Linked DNA regions of Homo sapiens: region 2 is linked to region 1. The links are contacts of gene promoters, found by promoter capture Hi-C in blood cells and fetal thymus (Javierre and others, 2016). All regions are on one chromosome and are shown on one strand. Each heading gives the region's core, a stretch centred on a gene start or on the middle of the fragment in contact. The rest is flanking DNA. Distances are from core to core; before and after follow the strand shown. Region 1 holds the start of PDE4B (phosphodiesterase 4B). Region 2 overlaps PDE4B (phosphodiesterase 4B).

Evidence for each region. Contacts are between HindIII fragments. The CHiCAGO score rates a contact against its expected background, and 5 or more counts as called.
Region 2: a contact is called between a fragment that was not itself captured here and the fragment with the promoter of PDE4B in region 1, in 1 of 17 cell types (M1 macrophages). The highest score is 5.7, in M1 macrophages.

The regions. Positions count from the first base shown.
Region 1 is chr1:65,790,396-65,797,167 of GRCh38, reverse strand. It overlaps PDE4B (phosphodiesterase 4B), which reads right to left and starts at 4,273. Exons shown (of 17, transcript NM_002600.4): 1 at 3,920-4,273. The HindIII fragment of the contact is 11,219 bases long and covers 1-6,772 here.
Region 2 is chr1:66,243,493-66,250,264 of GRCh38, reverse strand. It overlaps PDE4B (phosphodiesterase 4B), which reads right to left. Exons shown (of 17, transcript NM_002600.4): 4 at 2,611-2,805. Among named protein-coding and RNA genes, the nearest start is that of PDE4B-AS1, 200 kb to the right of the region's middle. The HindIII fragment of the contact is 986 bases long and covers 2,808-3,793 here.

The DNA.
Region 1 (6,772 bases), core at 3,024-5,523:
CCTGGCTAACATGGTGAAACCCCGTCTCTACTAAAAAATACAAAAAAATTAGCCAGGCGTGGTGGCGGGCACCTGTAATCCCAGCCACTCAGAAGGCTGAGGCCAGAGAATGGCGTGAACCTGGGAGGTGGAGCTTGCAGTGAGTGGAAATAGTGCCACTGCATTCCAGCCTAGGCAACAGAGCGAGACTCCATCTCAAAAAAAAAAAAAAATGTTTCAGGCTAGACACGGTGGCTCAAGCCTGTAATCCCAGCACTTTGGGAGGCTGAGGCAGGCAGATCATGAGGTCAGGAGATCGGGACCATCCTAGCCAAAATGGTGAAACCGCTTCTCCACTAAAAATACAAAAAATTACCTGGGCATGGTGGCACGCACCTATAGTCCCAGGTACTCAGGAAGCTAAGGCAGGAGAATCGCTTGAACTCAGGAGGCAGAGTTTGCAGAGAGCCAAGATCATGCCACTGCACTCCAGCCTGGGTGACAGAGTGAGACTCTGTCTCAAAAAAAAAAAAAAAAAAAAAGTTTCAGCAAGCAAATACAAATTCTCTAGAAACTAATGAAAAAATAGAATGTCTCAGCAAATAAGCATAAGCTGCAAAAAGAACCAAATGGAAATTATTGAGTTGAAAAATATAGTAATCAAAATAAAATACTAGATGGGCTCTGTAGTAGAGAAGACAGAGGACAGAATCAGCGAACTTGAAAACAGACCAATGAATGTTTTCTATTTGAACAAAGAGAAAATACCAGAAAAAAAAATGATGAACCAAGCCTCGGGGTCTTGTAGGACAACAACAAAAGATCCAACTTTCATATCATCAGAGTCACAGAAGCAGATAAGAAAGAGAGTGGGGCTGAAACACTTTTGTGTTTGAAGAAATAATGCCTAAGAATCTCCCAACTTGGTGAAAGACAAACCTACATTTTAAAAACTTCATCAAATCCCAAACAGAGCAAACCAAAAGAAATTCATGCCAAAACACATCATAATCAAACTTCCAAAAAATGAAGATATAGAAAATATTCTTGAAACTCTCCAGAGAGAAATGACGCATTGTGTATAAGGGAACGTCAATTCAAACAACAACAAATTTCTCATTGAAACCAGGGAGGCCTGAAATGAAGTGACATAACATTTTTCAAGTGCTGGAAGAAAAAGAAACTGTCAACTATAAATTCCTTCCACATATGCATCTTCTATATCATATTTGATGGTTGAAACACCACATTTCAAAAGACCAATGGATTAAAACTGGCAAAATGAATGTATGGGGTAAGAACATAGTCACAGGTGGGTTTCCCTGGCAAGCTAATTCTGAAATGAAGTTCAAAGCCCTATTTTCTTGGGAACCGCCTTGTTATCCACACCTGAGGAAGGATGGGGAAGGAAACAGAAAGGACCAAAGAGAGAAGTAGAGCTGCAATGCAAGCCCTCAGGGAGCTCCAGAGCTAGAAAGATCCTTCAGAGTTTTCCAGAGTTGTGCTGCAATGGCCCAACCTTTATACTCCCACATGGATCAGCCATTGGATGTGAGCTGCGCTGGAAAGGGGTGTGACCTTGGACAAGGGAGCTTTCTACAGCTCAGGCAATCCCTGAAGAGTCTGACTATTGAAGGCCATCTGTTGACCACACTCCCAGAAGCTGGGGCAACAAGTCCCTCCTTGAAGAACGATTTGGCACATCACAGTGTCCACTGTATTACCACATGGTGGCTACAATAGCCAGTGCCTGAAGGAACTCATTTGTTTTGTGGTCAGCAACATCCTAAACCTTGTCCAAACTATGCTGTTTGAAGGTTTTTGGAAATAGAAATGGGTGAAATTGTATGACATGATAATAAATTACTAACCACCAAATCTTTCTAACTGAAGACCTCTTCATATACCTCTTGCTCCTTAGCCAAATTAAGTCAAGTAAGATATTAGGAGTAACCTAGAACTCTTTATTTCTTCACAATTTTAAATATTGCATTTGTAAACCAAAATGGAATTATTATTTCTGTGTCCAGTATCTTTATCAAACAAGCCTTTATTTGTACATACACAGTAACTATTACTGTTAAATACTTAAATACCTGTCTCTAGACAGGCAAAGGACTCCAAGATCAGAAAACCATGTATGATTGATTTCTTATTCCTCAAATCAAAAAACAGTCCTATTTTGAAAGCAAACAGTATGTCTAACAGGTTACTCTCTAGAGAAATTTAAGACAATTCATTTTTGCAAAATATGTCAAGCCATAAAGAAACTGAAAAGCAAATCAGCTGATAAAAATACAAGTAGACACACTGCAACATTGTTTAGCTCCCAACTGTAACAAGAAAAATAGAAAGATGATAGATATATAGATAAACAGCCTCAATGCATCGATCATGCCATCTCATAAATTCCAGTCCATTTAACAATCTTACTTATTTTTTGTAAATTAACAAAATTGGCACGTTGTTGTTTAGAAAATGAAAAAGAATAGAAACAGCCAGCAAACATATTACAGTCAAGTCCTACAAGTATTGATTTGAAGAGCTGAAGAGACCAATGCTATATTTATTGACATTAAGGGGATTTCTCTCTTGGGATACCAAGAAATGAGGTATCCTGAGAGAGAAGAAGCTCAACTTCCTTTACCTGCAGTGAAATCATTGGCCTTATCTATCTTCTTGTGAATTCATGTACAGATAAATTCTAGACCCCTACCTACACTTCAGGTTGTAGGTAAAAACACTGAAATCTCCAAATTTGTTTCGTTTTTATGAATATAATTGGTATAATAACAGCTTTTGGCAAAAGGAAACGGAGGGGGAGTATGATCTACTAATAAAAATAGTATCTGGACATTTATTACTTTTTTTATGCTTAATGTGCCTTTCATTCTTATAACTTAGCCAAGAGTTTTCCAGCAGCTGGAAATCTTTGAAATTAAACGATGCATGTGATTCAAAGAACAGTTATATCTCAGATCTAAGATGCAGAATGCATAGAGTTACCATTTCTGTTCAGTGGCATCATATAATTATGATGTAAACCTAATGTAAGTACAATGTAATTTTAGGTGACCGTCTCAAAGTCTTGCTAAAAATTATCCCAGGCACGTGTGTGACACACACAGACACACACACACACATATATAACTACTGTAATTAAGAGCGATTCTTCTGTGCGCTCCTCCTTATACACGCTTTAAAGCTGTTGGCCATAGTGGGTTCCGATTTGTGTTTGAAGTACCGCACAAGGAAGGTGGCCTGTGAAAAACGGGAAGGAAGGAGGCAAAACAGGAAGATGGAAGAAGAGAGTAGGCATGAAGGAAAGTGACAGGAGAAAGGAGGAGAGCCTCTTCCTTCCCCAACACACTCTTGTAGCTAGAAAGGTCCAAGCCCCCTCACCAAACACCAGACAAATCTTCCCAAAAGTTCCTGGCAGAGCCTTGGTGATGCCGAGGCTTGAGTGCGCCCCTCCTTGGTGCCCCAGCCACCAGGGCACGCAGGAGCATCCTGGAGCCTCAGCCCAGCAAACTCTTGGGTAGTTCAGGTTCCCTTCCGCGCCCGCTGCCTGCAGTCAATCACTGGGCACCGCGCGCCCATCCGTCACCTACTCCAGGGCTTCCAAGCCCTGAATCCTTCTGCCTCTCTCCATTCTCCCTTAGCCTCTCTCCATCCTCTCCTCCCCAGTGACTTGTCAAGAGGTCCAAGGGCGGAAGCCGAAGCAGAGAAGATGAGGGCGAAAGGCTAGGGGCCGGTTGGCGGATTTCCTACAAGGGGCGACAATGACGCCGTCAAGACGACCATCCAGGCCCGGCGGCCCCATTCCCTCTTTGCCCCACATCAGCCCCACAGCACCCTACACTCTCCATTGAGGCTTCAGTGTGTGATGAAGTAAGAGAATGAGGAAAAATAAACCCGCAGCCTCCTAGGCAGCCCTTACCTCAGGCTGCCCTCGCAGAAGCCGCCCTCCTCCTGCCCGAGGCGCCTCTGCTGCACCGCCGCGGCCGCAGCGCTCTGGACGCCGGGGCTCCGCCCGGCGCGGGTAGACCATGCGCTGCGAGTGAGCCTTCCGCGCTCCCGGGGGTGGGGGACGAAAGTCTGCCCGGAGGGCGCTCGCGTGCAGCCCGGCCCGCGACGAAGAGCCTGCAGCCGCTGAGGCGAGGCCAGGAGCCCCGGGAAGGGGCGCGCGGGCCGGGGGCGCGCGCGCGGACGGGCCAGCGGGCTAGCCTGGGGAACCCGCGCCAGGGAGACACAGGCGCTGGCGACGCGCCCCTCAGCTCTTCTCTCGTCCTCTGGCCCTTTAAACCCCCTCTCCCTACTGTCCACCCCCGCCCCCCGGAAGAGAGACAGCTCGCCGGTGCCACTTGGTCTGCCGCGCTGCGCTCCTCAGCCGGGTGCGGGGAATAACAATGTGACCGTATCGCACGGACGAGATGCTGTGTAGTAGGTTGTAACTGCTGAGGCCACCACCTGTCAATTCTAGGGTGCAAAGCACGCCGTCCCCAGTCGTCTGGCCTCTCCCTGATTGCCCTCCCAGGTTATTTTTTCCCCCACCTACCTCACAGACCTCCTGCAATATTCCGCGGGCACGGTACCAGGGGAGTTTTGCAAAATAACCCTCTCTCCCAGCCGGGAGCTCACTGCATCTCCCTTACCACCAGAGCTGAAGGATTACGCACAGCCCTGCGTGCCTATCCAAAGCCAGAGACCGAAAATCCTGGTTTGAACCCCACACTCGCCGGCCCCCCAGCCCCCATTCATAATCCCAGCGGCCGTCTGCCACTACACACCCTCCCCCGGCCGCCCGCGCTCTTTCCCATTCGCCGTCCCTGGAACGTGTCAGTCACTCGCTGTGCATCTGCCATGAATACAAGACGAAGAGCTCTGCAGCTACTGGCTGCACAAAGAGGGACTGGGGCGCAGGGGACGCAGACCCCCGGGTTGGGGGAGGCGAGAGAGCCAGCGGGGCACATTACGTGGAAGGAGCCAGTGGGACCGTGGGAGTCCTCTGGTCTCCTGTTGCACAAAGGAGCGCCAGAGTGAATACGCGCAGTGCTCCTGAACCAACAGGTCAGATCACCTCCCAAGAGGTGCTCCACCAAGACACCCCTGAAGGTGAGTCCCACAACTTGGGAATTCGTGTGATGGAGCAACAGGCACTCAGTAACCTGACTGAGCCTGCTTTAAAAATGCAACAGGATGGAGAGAGAGCGAGAGCGAGAGCGAGAGAGAGAGAGAGAGAGAGAGAGAGAGAGTGTGTGTGTGTGTGTGTGTAGAGTGGGAGAGGTATGCTGGAAAGCACAAGTTTCCTTTTCCCCGGTTGTCCAGCCCTTTCAGTCAGAGAAAAAAAGAAGGAAGCTGGCAAGGAAAAGAGGAGGAAGATAGGCATGAAGTAACTTTGCCTATCCAACTACTACAGTAGCTAGAGACCAAAATGACTTTAATAGACAACATTCGCCTGTTTCTCGATTTATTCCAATAAACATCATGCACACCTACTGTGCACTGAGCACTTTGCAGAAGCTAAGGATGCAGAGTCGATTAGGACATAGTCTCTGCACCCAAGGAGCTCACTGCCTAATAGGAGAACCAACTATGAAAGCCCGAGACAAACAACACAAGTATTTCACAACAGAAGCACATGCCAATTGCATAAGTGGAAGCAATTTTTTCTATGTAAGAGAAGGAACAGGTCAGGGAATTTAAATCCCATCTGAACTGTGTATTAAAGGACAAATAGGGACCTCCCAAAGAAGGGCAATAACCTAATAACCTACTATTCACCCATTCACCCAAAATAGCTTTACATGCCTGTACATTGAAAGGCATGTCTAAGAGCTTATCAGTGTAGGAACTTAATGAACTTTCCCCTTCATGGTTTTGGAGGAAACATATTCAAACACTAGCGTTTGGAGTATAAAACACCTATTTCCCCACATCTGAGATGCTACCAAGTGTTCGCTGGTTATTCTGCCTTTTTGGACCTGTTGCTTACACTATACCATCTACCTCATCCATAACCTTGAAATTGAGCCCAAAGCCAAAATTAATAATAGTGAGGCAATAAGCACCTGAAAGGAAGCCAACAAAATCCGCAATGTAGTCATTGTTCTCACAGTTTTCATCTGTAAAATGATGATAATGGAATCTCTTTTTCTGAACTACAGTTAGGATTAGTTAGATGTATTAAATATAAGGCAACCATTGCCTAAAGAGAGTGTAAGGAATCTAAATTGTAGTTCAATCTAGGGGAAAAAAAGAACCAATTTGAGCATCATGCTGCCCCTTTTTGAATATGAGAAATTTGAAAGGTATTAATAATTACTAAGCCTCCCAAGGTTATTACATCATCTTCAGAAAAATGTGTCCAAAGAGTTCTTACTGCAAAAAGAATTATATACGGATTCCAGTAGAAAATGATGTCAGCTTTTTAAGCATCTTTCTCATCTCTTTCTAAAAATTACATAAACTAACAAAGAGAATGGAAAAAAACTGTCAAACACCATTTTCAACAAATTTATATAGATTTTACCTACAAACCCCAAAGCGCTTCTAAAGGTTACCAAAAGCAGCTGAGTTTGGGCAGAAGTCATATGGAAAAGGCCCAGGGAGAGGCAATGGGAACCAGCACTAGAAGTATCAGAAAGTGCCAGCAAAAGTATGTTTTCTGGGAAATGAGAGGTGTGTCGTAAAATGCAAAGCTGTCTCTCAAAAACTGGAGCAGAAGCAGAAGGAAGAAGGCAAAAGAGATACATACATACAGATGACAAAAGGAGAACAGGGAGTTCCCAGA
Region 2 (6,772 bases), core at 2,051-4,550, 450 kb before region 1:
ATCTAGACTCTTGGTCTATTAGCACCCTTCTTGCTTCCTGGATCTATGGGTAGAAGGCAAAAAAAGGGGCGGGAAGTGTGGGGAGCTGCTGTTCCTCTGTTTCGATTCATCTTAAAGAGTTAATAATCATATGAAATAGCTTTAAGAGCATTACTTTAGTTCAGATTCAGATATTTATGTGAAACTGGATTTGCCAACTTAAAACTAAATTACTAGAAGAAGCTTAATATTATTCAAACTCTACTTCTCAGCGTGTTGTGAAATATAATTCCAAAACTGACAAATATATAAAAGTTTTTTTCTGTGGTACTGAAATATTTGGAAAACAAAATCTTGTGCTATTTTCATTCACACAAAGATTTTAATATATCCTGTTATCAGTATTTTTGATAGGGTGGTATTATGTTGCCAACCTTGTTTTCTTGGGAAAGGCTGCTTTTTATTATGAAATTGTGCCCATACTACTTTTTATCTAAGTCCTTATCTTTAAAAAGTGAGAATGATATTAAATAATTTACATATATAATTTTTACTTGCCTAAATTTAAAGTTGGAAAATTTAGGTTCTAAAGTTACTGGGGGCAGGGGGTGGGGCGGGTGGTGGGGAATTTTACTGGCCAGTAAAATTGAAAGGACAGTAAACTACCAGTAACAGGGATGCTGGATGCGGTGTCATTTAGAACTACACCTCTTTTTTGACTGCCGTAGATTCAGTTGGATTGTGATCTTTAAGGTCTCTTCAAATTTAACATTTCTACAACCTTTTGATTCCAAATAATGAAACACAAGATTTAATCTGGAAGTGCAGTAGAGTTTTCTGGGGCGACTCTGAATGACCTTGAGATTCTTCCTGCCGTTTGGCTTGAGTCTGGAGAGCTCTTAGCCAGGGAATTAGTTTTTGGGGAATGACAAGATTTCAAAGCTAATCTTGCACCTGTAAAATACTATGTGAATTAAGCTCTAATTACTTTGAGCTCACCACATGACCTACGGTCTTCCATGATGAAGCCTAGAAAGGTGTTTATCTTGGTGAAGGAAAGAATTCCCAATATCTTTGCATTCAAAGACCCCCATTCAAACTTTTGTCAGAAATGCCTTGGGTTCTACAAGATCTACAGCAAAGTTGCTGGCTACCTACCTCTCCTGCAGCCTTGGACACCTCTACTCTGCAGTCATTTGTTTTCTACCTAGTGGTAGAGATGCCACTTTGCAATTTGAAGAACATGGATGGAAAGATTCCAAAAGTTTTTAATATGGTCAGGCTTAGCCACATCATGGGACACAGCATGATACACAGTCATGGGATAGGGGCAAGTTTCTCAATCTCTCAGAGTCCCAGTTTCATCATCTATGGAGTGGGGATAATAAAGACACCTACCTGACAGATTAACAGAGATAACATAAGAACATGAGCTCGGCTCCATGGGAAGTGCTCATTAAATGTTATTTCCTTTCACTCTGTTATGTTTGTATGTGTGTGTTCCTCTTATCTTTCTTATTTAGCTGTAACCTCCCTGACAGCATGCACATTTTTTGAGAATGAGATATGCTTTTAACTCATCTGTGATTTTTACACTGTTTTGTTTGTCTTTTATCACCAGAGATTGACACAATGTGTGGCACAAAGGAGAGAATCAGTAAATTTTGCCAAATGACTGAAAAATGAATTTGGGCCCACACAATGATTGAGATATTTTAGGGCAGGGGTGCGTCTATTAAAATGTGCTGGCAGAAATGCCTCAAGGAATATTTTTTTGCTGGTAGCTTCAAAATTCCCCCTTTCACCAGAGGGTGAAATTTTTGACTTCCCTTCCAATAGCAGAAGAGAACAGAGTGGAATTTTCCAAACTGGAGACCTTAGGGAGCTACTGATACTTTTATGACATATAATATAAAAACAATTGTATCTGTGCCCAGAAACCTTTTAAGGCATGAATTCCAGAATCCAATTTTATTTGGTTTTGGAAATTTAATAAATGGGTGACACAACCTAGATCTTGTTCTTTAAATAAAATTTAGAGATTTACAATTAATAGCGGCAAAACAAAAATATCAGCAGTGCTTTACAGGGCGGTGGAGTGTGTTGTGTCTCACCAAGGAGCCAGGCAACAAGTGGGCATTGTGTTAAAGTTTCAGAGAAGGGACACAGGCATGTGTCTGAATGACATCTTATTAAAGTCACCAAGCAAAGGCTACTGAGACAGCATGCATATAACCAATCACCATTTTTCCTCTTTGCTGGAGCCTCATGAAAACTGCACACACAGCTGAAATTTCAAGTGTGATGTATAAAAAGTGTTAAGGTTCTCATGCCATAAATGACTCAACAGTTCAGGAAATGAAGCAAAATAATTTTTTTAAGGTATCAGTAAAAGATGTAAAGTAAACACTGTGTCTAGGTTTTCCAAAACCCTTGGAGACCCCAGCTACATATTCCGCATGCTATAGAGCATTAATGTCCTTAAAATGGTCATCACGTCACCCCTGCTCATATTCATTTTCTTCCTTCATCCTTACCATAGATTAATGGGGAATTGTTGTTGCTGCCACTGTGACCTGGGTAGAGATGAGGTAAATGTGAAACTGGAAGCCAGACAGAGCTTGTACTTACTGCTCGCTTGGAAGAGAAGAGTTTCTCGACATCGCCTTTGGTGACAAGTCATAGTCGCTGTCTGATCTGTAGAGAAATGACTCTCTGCGCTGGCTGTGCCCAGGAAAGGTGGCGTGAAGTACCAGCCCAGCGGAAGAGCTGGCCTGGGGATCCAGTGGACTCCGACCTGGGGAAGGGCCATTTTCCACATCAAAGCTTAAAGAGAAAGTGGGAAACTCTGGTCACATGATAACCATGGAGGAGGACACATAGTATACACTGAGAACCAACGTGTGGCAGGTACTATACACTAAGCATTTTACATAAAACTGTATGTACTATGGAAAGTTTTCATCCTCAACACAGCTTAGAGTTGCAGTCATTATTATTTTCATGTTATGTATAGGAAACTGAGTCGCACTGAAGTTCAGTTATTTACCCATGCCCACCATTAGCAAATAATGGAGCCAGAATTTGAACCCAGGAGCAAACTCCATGGCCTTTCAGTGACATGAGTAACTTGGACAAATTCGGCGTTGGTGCCAGGCATACAACAACTTGGTGATAATAAGCAACTTTAGAGGGGGCATTCAGCACAGCTCTAGGTGTCAGACCCTGAACTATCACATGAGTAAAGTCTTCCTGTCTGGAAGACTTCTTCCTGTCATGAATAAATATCACAGTCTCATTAAATATACAATACACGTATTTCTAAATGTTTCAGGAACAAAGTGTTATCCTGACAACCTCCACTGGGTTATTAGATGGGAGGCCCAGCCTGAGATTTAATATTCATCTGCAAATTTAACCACAGAAAATGACTTAATTAATCTGCTAACACCAAATTACTCTCCAAGGCTGCAGAGCTTTGTCTCTGGGGGAGGATGCATTCACTGGCTCCCACAGAGGAGTGTCATGAGGTTTCCTATCGGTCTTCGTCACTCTAGAAAGGTGCCCTCAAGCCCAGAATTATTTGAACATGCTCTGATCAATGAACACACAGACGGGAGCAGTAGAGATTTTGTCTCTTGTTTTCTGTATCCACGCTCCTGGTATTTCCCTGGGCACTGTGCCCTTTTCACATTCTCCTTTATCATTACATATGCATTTTTTCCTGCACACACAATCTCTCTTAGCCTCAAATTGACAGTAATCCTCTTCCCTAGTATTTCTCCAGAACTCTCACTGCTCCCCAGCTAAAGCTTTGCAGAGAGATGGTGAACAAAAGATATGGGGCTGAGGATGCTCCTTTTTTCAAATTAGACCACAACAGTGAATTTCCTGTATACCAATTCAGCGGCCATGATTTATGTCTACATTCTTGGTTCTTTCCTTTCACTAGTTCTTACAACCAGCTCACTTTGGGTGGATTTTGCTTATATTTCTTCACTTTACAAAGTGCTTCCCAATACATTATTCCATTTACTCCTAACAACCCTGTGAAGTATATAAAATGATCCTACTCTACATTTGAGGTAAATGAGGCTTAGCAAGATGTAAATACCTTTCTCAGAGTCATAGGCTAGTAACTTGCAGAGCAGAATTGGAAGACTCATGTCTTGCAACTAATTTCTTTACAACCTCAGACTTTCCTAATGACAGAACTCCAGAATGGCCCAATAGATAACTGAGTGAAATTCCTCTTTAGTCTCTGAATTCAACCAAAAGTAATTTGGTACATAAAGAGCCAGTTAGACTATAAGCAACCTTGGCTGCTCTCTTGAATGAAAACGGGGAGGCAGCAAATTACCCTGAAGCTGTAGGTTTCCTTGAAACATGAGGAGAAGAAATGACAGAAGGCAGGGTTATAAGGCTTCCCCAGAGACCATTCACAGAAGCTGCTTTTAGACAACCCACAAACTCCAGGTGTCTGATAAGAAGCAGAAAATGATAATGTCTGGGTAAAAGGCCAAAGAAAAGCTATAACAATCCAATATGTTTGGTCTTTCAAGGTACTGTAGATGAATTTTCTCAGTAGGCTAATGGTCTGGGATGGGGCTGCCTTTCAAAGACTGCAGGCAGACAGGCAGGTGGACAATCACTCATACTAGCAGCCTGCTTGCCAGCCTGCCTGGAGGCAGAGCTACGTTGTTAGCCACATACATTGCAGCAAGCAAAAATATAATAAAGCGACTTGCAAACTTCCCTTGGGTGAGATCTATCGTAGTTGAGCAAAATAAAAAGCCCCTCTGTGGATAAGGGCTTTTTTGTGTGCCACCCAAACCCCTAGAAACAGTAGGTCATGGGCTCTGAACTATTTTTAAGGGCAAAGTAGGTAGGTTCTTAAAAAGTGAAGAGGGGATTACACAAAACTTAATGGTGGGCATGAGTTTAGAAATTTCATGTATTTATGTTGTTATTCATCTGGTATGTATCTGTGCAACCTTTCTGGATATTAAAACACTAACATACTTTTAAAACTGTTAGCATCCATCCACTGCCCCAGGCCCTCCAGGGTCAGCTGGACTTCTTGGTGATCCAGTAACTAAAGGATTGGTGTCTGGAAGCACTGTGCCTGTGTCCATTAATTCATCAGTGCTCATGCAGTGCCAGTCATTAAATATTATGAATACCACTGCTGTGTGTATCTGTGCTAAAATCTTAGAGCAGGTGCCAAGTGGGTATGCCCACCGAGCTCTTAGAACTCTTTCCATTCAGGGTTTCCACCAAGGCTCATTCTGCCTTCTTTTTTGCTAAAGGCATTCCTAGTGGGCAGAGGGTAAGTCCACAAAGCATTACCCTTAAAATGAGTGTCATAGGCATTCTGTCCCTAGTATTAGAATCCAAGAAGTTCACTTATGCCAGGTAAACTGGGGTTAGACCCTGACTCCAATGATCTCTCCATGATGCCCCTGTTTGCTTTTGTTTTCTTTCCTTCTTACCCTACTTAAACTCAGGAGAGCTTGCTGGAATTTAAACGAAGCCAGGGAAGAAGTCTCTGATGCAAAGAAGCAGTCTTAGGGAGACAAATGGCCTTTCATATTCCCTGGGGCACTGCTTCAAAGCAACCAACACAGATGTACAACTTTGGAACAAACATGAATCACCAACCAGACACCAGCCCCAGTCACAGCAAAATTAGCGGGCAGACATCACAATACGTCCCACAGATCCAGGGAGTGAGGAGGGGTGTGGGCAAAGGGAAGGCTGAGGACAGGCTTAATAAGCAAAATGAATATACCACACAAACTGAAATACAATTAGGAAGAAAATGGAATCTACAGTAGCAGAAACAAACACATAAATAGGGCCATTATTTGTTTAGGGTAATTTTTGCCTCTGCCTTCATCAGGACACATATTTCACCTTTAGGCTGCTTTATATTTTAAAAAAATCATTATAAAAGAAATATAAGAATATTATATAAAACGTAGACAATAGAGAAAAGAACAACATCATTACTAGCAGTTTATTTTTTTCTCTTCTGAATATTTTTTCTCCTGCAGGTTTGGATCTTGATTTTTTTCACAAGTATTTGTTATGTGCTACAGTTTTCAGAATTAGCATTTTCCATGAGCTGCTTCATTCAGTTGCTGTATCACAATTTTCTCAAGCATTTTCTCTACTTTCACTCTTCATATTTGCAATTCTGAATAATGTTGCAGTTGATAACTTTGAGCTTGTAGCTACTTCAACATTTAAATGAGGTCACACAGAAGTTTCAGATAGATTAAGACAGGAAGTTACTCACAAGTTTCTGAATATTTGATTGTGACTTATACCTGCCTGGAAGGGGTTGCCCATATATACACGGCATTGAAAGTGGCCTTTTCCCTGGGTCCAAAGACCCTGCCAAGCCCTGCTCTCTGATCTTCAAGATTATTTATGTTGCCTGCTCACTTGGATCTGCCTTCTTCTCCCTGCCTCTGCCAATATCCCTGGACTGAATCAATTGCTCATCTGAGACCTAATGTTTTAACAGCCTTCTCTTGCATTGTATCTAGTGTTCTCAGCTCTTCCAGGCAGTGATGGTGGGTGATGGGCTGTATGAGAAGTGGTGCTTCCCATAACTGGAATGTCTTTCCCATTACAGTCTCCATTGAGCTAGTATCTTCAAAATTCAGTTCATGCCATCTCCCAGAGTATGCGCTCTCTGACACTGCAGTCCAGTTTGATTTTGACACATGCTCCTCCTCTGTGCTCTCCTAGATTCCTTTACCATAGTACTTTATCACAGTACTTG